Regions from separate parts of the Homo sapiens genome. Here region 1 is linked to region 2. The links are contacts of gene promoters, found by promoter capture Hi-C in human tissues and cell types (Jung and others, 2019). All regions are on one chromosome and are shown on one strand. Each heading gives the region's core, a stretch centred on a gene start or on the middle of the fragment in contact. The rest is flanking DNA. Distances are from core to core; before and after follow the strand shown. Region 1 has its middle 17 kb from the start of SLC25A43. Region 2 holds the start of PGRMC1 (progesterone receptor membrane component 1).

Region 1 (3,403 bases), core at 716-3,215, 150 kb after region 2:
TTGAATTTACCTTAGAACCTTTATTTTGAGGGAAGAAAGCCTTTGAATATAAACAAATAAGGCCACATTAAGTGAATCTTTTGGATGCTATATATTCAAAATAAATATTTTATTTTTCTGACTTCACCAGTTCCAAAGGGAAATAATCAACATGCTTATGGTCAGAATTTTTTTTGATCAAGCTGTATTATTAAGAATGTTGACATATAGAAAATAAAATTTTACAATTCTGAAAAAGAAATAAAATAAAATGGGGCATTATGGGGGTCAAGTCTCAAGAAAACAATACAATCTTAAAACGTGTATGCCCTAACAACAAAGCATCAAAATAAATGAGACAAAAATTGATAGAACTGTAAGAATAACTAGACACATCTACTATTATCATTGGAGATTTCAACACCCCTCTGTCAGCAATGGATAGATTAAGCAGGCAGAAAATCAGTACAAATATAGAATGGATTGTGGAGAAGGAAGAAAATGAAACCTAGTGGCAGCCCTGAGACCAACTGCAGCAAGATGAGCTATTGCTCTTCCCACTAACCTCCTCTTCTAAGTCTTCCCTCAGGAAGAGAGGTTCACAGGAACTCTGAACAAGAACTCTGAAGTTAATCCAAGCAACACAAAGGATGGACTGTGGCAAGCATGGAGCTGCATAGCTCAGAGCTCCCATCAAGAAAGACTTTGCCATGGAACTATGAGGAGTGAAGTTAGCTTACAGCCTCAGGTTGCAGGACCTTCCAAGACTGGCTGCAGTATTCTTGACAAAACCATGCTTTCCCTGGGCAGCCTCCAGTCAATAACTAAGCAAGGTGGCAGTTCTAGGGCCTGGCCACTTCTGCCCAATGTGAGACTCTTTTAAGAGGCAGTCTTTCCTCCAGAACTCCCCACTGGGTTGAGACCAAGACTTTGTCATATTTGCCTCAAAGTCTAAGGCAACTCTGCCAAATTCTGTTTCCACCCCTTATCCTTTCACATGTGTCAGATATGCATTGTAGTTTGAATGCCTTTCCTGCCCAATCTTGCTCTCTGCCCTTTTATCTTTCACAGGTATTAGCCACAATCAACATCCTGCATTCCTAACTCCGTATTAGCATCTGCTTCCTAGAGGACCCAAATAGACACAATTAGCCACACACCACTGCCATCCACTTTGGGGAAATTCTTCAGAATACACTTAATCAAGCATTTCAAGAGTCTCTTCATTATGATCAAAATGTTTTCAGCAAGTTCTTCAGTTTAATTCATAACTAGGAAAATCAGATAATGAAAACCATTTAATACCACAGCCTCACAATCTCCATCAAGGCATGTGTGCTGCCAGTTGCAGTGGCTCACACCTGTAATCCCAGCACTTTGGGAGGCCGAGGCAGGCAGATCACGAGGTCAGGAGATCGAGACCATCCTGGCTAACATGGTGAAATCCCGTCTCTACTAAAAACACAAAAAATTAGCCGGGTGTGGTGGCACGCGCCTGTAGTCCCAGCTACTCGGAAGGCTGAGGCAGGAGAATGGCATGAACCCGGGAGGCAGAGGTTGCAGTGAGCCGAGATCGTGCCACTGCACTCCAGCCTGGGGGACAGAGTGTGACACTCAGTCTCAAAAAAAAAAAAAAAAAGGCATGTGTGCTGTAGCTACAGTTTTTACAATCACTGCATTCGGTTTATCTGGAAGGATAGAACACTGATGAAGCTTGTCATACAAGCATACATTTGGGCTGCGTAAAGTTAATCTTAATCATGCTTATGATCATTCAGATTAAGGGTTTTTGTTCCAGAAAGATACAAGATTTTTCTTGAAACTCAGTCAAGTGATGAATTTTCCTTAGGGAAGTCAGTGACTTCCTTGAGCAAAAGTAGTTATTTATGGTCATTACCCTAACCTCATAACAAAGCTGGAAAAAAAAAACTTTAACATAACTGGCAAGCATTAAGTGCTTCTCATAACCTTCATGTGTAGCTCAGGTAGAGAGGGCTTTCTTGTGGTCAACAGTGTGTAGCTGTGTTAGTTAGTGCTATTGTTTGGATGTTTGTTCCCCCAAAACTCATGTGGAAATTTGATCCCCAGTGTTGGAGATGGGGCCTATTAGGAGATGTTTGGGTAATGGGGCAAATCTCTCATGAATAGATTAATGCCCTAGGGAGGGAAGTGGTGAGTGAGTTCTCACTCTATTACTTCTCATGAGAGCTGGTTGTTAAAAAGAGCCTAGTACCTCCCCCTTCTCTCCCTTGCTTCCTCTCTTGCCATGTGATCTCTGCATACACTGGCTCCCCTTTGCCTTCTACCATGAGTGGAAGCACCCTGAGGCTTTTACCAAGATGCCCAACATTCCAGCCCGTGGAACCATGAGCCAAACAAACCTCTTTTCTTTATTAGCTCAGATATTTCTTTTTCTTTCTTTCTTTTTTTTTTTTTTTAGACAGCGTCTCACTCTGTGACCCAGGCTGGAGTGCAGTGGCACAATCTCAACTCACTGCAACCACTGCCTCCCAGACTCAAGCAATTCTTGTGCCTCAGTCTCCCGAGTAGCTGAAACTACAGGTGTGCACTACCACATCCAGCCAATTTTTTGTATTTTTAGTAGAGATGGGGTTTTGCCACATTGGCCAGGCTGGTCTTTTTGTTTGTTTGTTTTTGTTTTTGTTTTTGTTTTTGAGACAGAGTCTGGCTCTGTCACCCAGGCTGGAGTGCAGTGGCACGATCTTGGCTCACTGCAACCTCTGCCTCCTGGGCTCAGGCGATTCTCGTGCCTCAGACTCCCAAGTAGCTGGGACTACAGGCACACACCACCATACCTTGCTAATTTTTTGTATTTTTAGTAGAGATGAAGTTTCACTATGCTGGCCAGGCTGGTCTCGAACTCCTGGCCTCAAGTGATCTGCCTGCCTTGGCCTCCCAAAGTTCTGGGATTACAGACATGAGCCACTGCGCCCAGCCAGATATTTCTGCATACCGACACAAACAGACTGAGACAGTCAGGTAGACTAGAATCTGCTGTGGTAACGAAGAAACCCTGAAATTTCAGTGGCTTAACCAAAGGTTGATTTTTCACTCACACAAAGTCCTATGAGATGGTTCCTGTATGAGCAACTCTCCAGGGTGGTTTTCCTCTGAGGGGTAAACCCAAGGATACAGGTTCCTTGCATCGTGTTCCACCATTTCAGAGTCCTTTGCTTCCTGCTGTACAAGAGCAAAGAGATTTATTAATAGCATGAAAAATCATGAAGGGTATTACATGGTTTAGGCCTAGAAGTGGCAGTTATCAATCCTACACATGTTCCCTTGCCAAAACAAAACCACATGGTCCCATTTAGGCAAAAAGAAAGCTTGGAAATGTAAGGGAGCATGTGGATATTGGTGGATAGTCTCTGGCATAATAGACTTTGCTTTTGATATAACAGCT
Region 2 (3,490 bases), core at 441-2,940:
GCTTTTCTTTTTGTTACTAATGAGACTGAACATTTTTCATATGCTTATTCACCACTGGCATGCTCTCTTTTGTGAACTACCTGTTCCTATTTTTTCCCATTTATTGACTAGAATCTTATACATTTTCTTATCAATCCAAATGATCTCTCAAATAAATATTAACCCTTTGTCATATTAGTTGCAAATGAAAATATTTTATAAGTTTATTAGCTTTCTAAATTTTCTTGGCCATACATGTTAAAAGAGATAGATTCTAACTATAGACAAGTGCCCTCAGTTTGAGCCTGTTTCTCCATGATTAAATTGAAGAGTTTTGACAAAAGATTTGGAGGGGCTGTTTCAGCTAATCCCAAATTTAGCTCTGAGAAAAATGCCTGGGCCCGATACAAAGATTGTTTGGCTCATTGCACTTTATAATGATTTAAGAAGATGTGGGGGGCAGGGATGGAAGCAGTTTTTGCCAGAAATTTTTAGAATTCTGAGGTAGGAAGCCAATCTTTACTCAAGTCTCTTGCGTGTTGGGAGGAGGAGTAAGTTATGTGCAAGCCAACAGAACACTTGGTGGAAAAGTACTGCTCTGGGCTGCAGATGTGTGCACGGCTTGGTTTTAATTATTTGTTTCCCTCTCTATCCTTTCTTCTCCTCCCCTCCCCCCGCCACCAGAAAAAGGGCCAGATTAGGACGAGGCAACCCCTTCCTCCGTGGAGGTCTGCTTCTGTGCAGCCTGTTAGCACATCAAAGGCCGGATGAAATACCTAGGAAAGGAAGGGACCAGGCCTAGGATCCTTCCAAACTCCCGCCTTTGTCTGGGCTCCAGCTCAGGGTTATTGTGACTGCCAAGGGTAGCCTGACAGACTCCAAATAGAAGAACGCTGCCAAACAAAGAAACTTTCACATTATTCTGAGGGGGGAAAAAAGAGCAACAAGAGAACGTTGCTTGTTAATGCCTGGTGACTGAGCAAATCAGTAATTGCAAAAGGGTTTTTCGGAGAACAAACCCAAAGTTAACTGGGCGATCAGATTCGTTTCCCCAGATAATAGGGAGAGTTGTGCACTGACTTTAGCAATCCCGGGGGTGTCGGTCCCACAGCATCTGGGGGAGAATTGGGGAAGGGCCATCAAGGAGAGCGAATGGGGGTTCCCAAGGTGAAAATGAGTCGTGTAGGGCTCTAACATAGAAAATGGAGTTCGAAGAATGAGTTTCCTGTCTCCTAAGACAGCTTGGAGGGCCCGGGAACGGCAGGGGGAAGATGAGGGGCTTCAGAATGGGAGGCAGGGAAAAGCCTGCAGCAACAGAAAGGGAGTCGGTGTCTGGCGCGCATCAGGTGGCGGAGGGGCGCTCGCACAGAGCCCGGCAATGCCGAGGCCCTCCCAACGGGTCGGTCTGCGAGGAGCAAAAAAGGGGTTCAGAGGAGGGCAGCGCGTGCGTCGCGCTCAGCTATAGGATGGCGCGAGGATGGCGTGAGGCTGGGCTGGGGCCTCCCAGGTAGAACTGAGGGGGGCACCGCGCGGCCGCGGGGGAGCGGCGCCGGACTCTAGAGGCTTTGGAGGGGGCCTGAGGGCTGCGGGGCGGGACCGAGCAGGGCGGGGCGCTTAGGTGGCCTCGGGGGAGGCGGGGCTTGGAGGCTCCGCCCCTCAGGCCCCGCCTCCTCCCCGGCTAGTCTTTGGCCGCCGCCGAACCCCGCGCGCCACTCGCTCGCTCAGAGGGAGGAGAAAGTGGCGAGTTCCGGATCCCTGCCTAGCGCGGCCCAACCTTTACTCCAGAGATCATGGCTGCCGAGGATGTGGTGGCGACTGGCGCCGACCCAAGCGATCTGGAGAGCGGCGGGCTGCTGCATGAGATTTTCACGTCGCCGCTCAACCTGCTGCTGCTTGGCCTCTGCATCTTCCTGCTCTACAAGATCGTGCGCGGGGACCAGCCGGCGGCCAGCGGCGACAGCGACGACGACGAGCCGCCCCCTCTGCCCCGCCTCAAGCGGCGCGACTTCACCCCCGCCGAGCTGCGGCGCTTCGACGGCGTCCAGGACCCGCGCATACTCATGGCCATCAACGGCAAGGTGTTCGATGTGACCAAAGGCCGCAAATTCTACGGGCCCGGTACGCGGCCGGCGAGGGGGGCTTGGAGACAAAAGAAGGGGGCCCCGGCACGGGGCTGGGCGGGAGAGAGGCGAGGCGGGAGCGGGGCGCCCCTGAGTGGAGGGAGGAATGGCGGCGAGCTAGGGTAGGCGGGTAGGCGGGCAGGCGGAGAGCCGGGAGGCTCCCGGGGCGGGCAGGGAACAAGAGGCGCTCTAGAGGGGCTGCGGGCCAGTCAGGGACGCGGATCCCCGGCCCGCGCTGACAGCGCTGGGAGGGGGTTAGAGAAAGAAGGCTGAGGCGCTTAAGCCGGGGGTGGGTGGGACCACGAAGCTCGAAGGCGTTGAGGGGGGACACATCAAAGCCCAGGCTGTTGGGGTAGTTTTCGAAGGTCCTGGGCTTGGGGATTCCTGGAAGGAGGAGGGGGTAGTGTCGGGTTCTAGGAAGGAAATGAGGGTGTTCCGAGGGAGGCATGGGGGAGGGCGAGAGTGAGAAAAGGTCCAGACCTAGAGAAGACGGGAAGGCCAATGACACCGGGAGTAGGTTTGAAATATGAGGGTGTGGGAGAAAACGCCGAGACGGGATTAGCAGCAGGTAAAAGCTTTGTGCCCGGTGGATAGTGATGTGTGTGTGCACTCGTGGTGTGTGCATGCGCGGTGTGTGCGTGTTTAGTGTATGTGATTTATCAGGGGTGTGTGTGTGTGGTGTGTGCATGCGCGCTTGAAATGGGTCATGCGTCAGGTATGTGTGTGGCATGTGTTTGGTCTGTGTGCGCTTGTGCTGTGTGTGGCAGATGGGGAAAGGCTGGAAGGTGAACAAGGAGGAAGGGGGCTGTTTGAGGGAGGAATAAAGGCTGAATATGGTGGACAATGGTAACGTGGCAAGCTTTTAAGGTAATATGGTATTTAGTCTATAGCAGGAGAGAAAGGATTAGAAGCCAAGAAAAATTAAAATGGAGGGAGGGAGAAGTGGGAGGATACCAAGAAACAAAAGGAGTAGAGCTAAGAAGACTGCTGGGTGGGGGGATATCAGGAAAAGCCAACCAGAGGGAAATGAAGAATGGATGACTGCTGCACTGCTGAGCTGTTGGAGAAGGCAGGCCTGATGGGTTCCTTAGAGGCGAGGTTTTTGCAAACCTGGTTGCGTATCAGAATCACCTGATGCATCTGAGGAAAAATACAGATTCCCAGTCTAACCGCCAGAGCTGCAAATGAGTCTCGGGTGGTCCGGGAGTCTGTATTTTAATATGCTTCCCAGGCGAATTTGAAAAGCAGCCAGGCTTGCAAAGTCCTGCTTTATAGAATACTTGGAGATGAGGAAGAAGAGGTTTTGGCTCCTCCAATATGGACTCCTCTAAACACAGGGAGCTTAGAGGATGTCCACATGGACGGTGCTCATTCCACACTGGCCTGAGAGA

Evidence for each region. The method cuts DNA at HindIII sites, captures the fragments that hold promoters and counts their contacts. A contact is called where the count stands out against the background at its distance.
Region 1: a contact is called between a fragment that was not itself captured here and the fragment with the promoter of PGRMC1 in region 2, in 1 of the 25 tissues and cell types used here (aorta).

Annotation. Positions count from the first base shown.
Region 1 is chrX:119,380,703-119,384,105 of GRCh38, forward strand. No RefSeq gene overlaps it. Among named protein-coding and RNA genes, the nearest start is that of SLC25A43, 17 kb to the right of the region's middle. The HindIII fragment of the contact is 3,028 bases long and covers 452-3,403 here.
Region 2 is chrX:119,234,595-119,238,084 of GRCh38, forward strand. It overlaps PGRMC1 (progesterone receptor membrane component 1), which reads left to right and starts at 1,691. Exons shown (of 3, transcript NM_006667.5): 1 at 1,691-2,097. The coding sequence starts at 1,770. It also overlaps the pseudogene NUDT19P6. RefSeq lists silencers at 1,414-1,463, 1,494-1,753, 2,154-2,303. The HindIII fragment of the contact is 12,683 bases long and covers 1-3,490 here.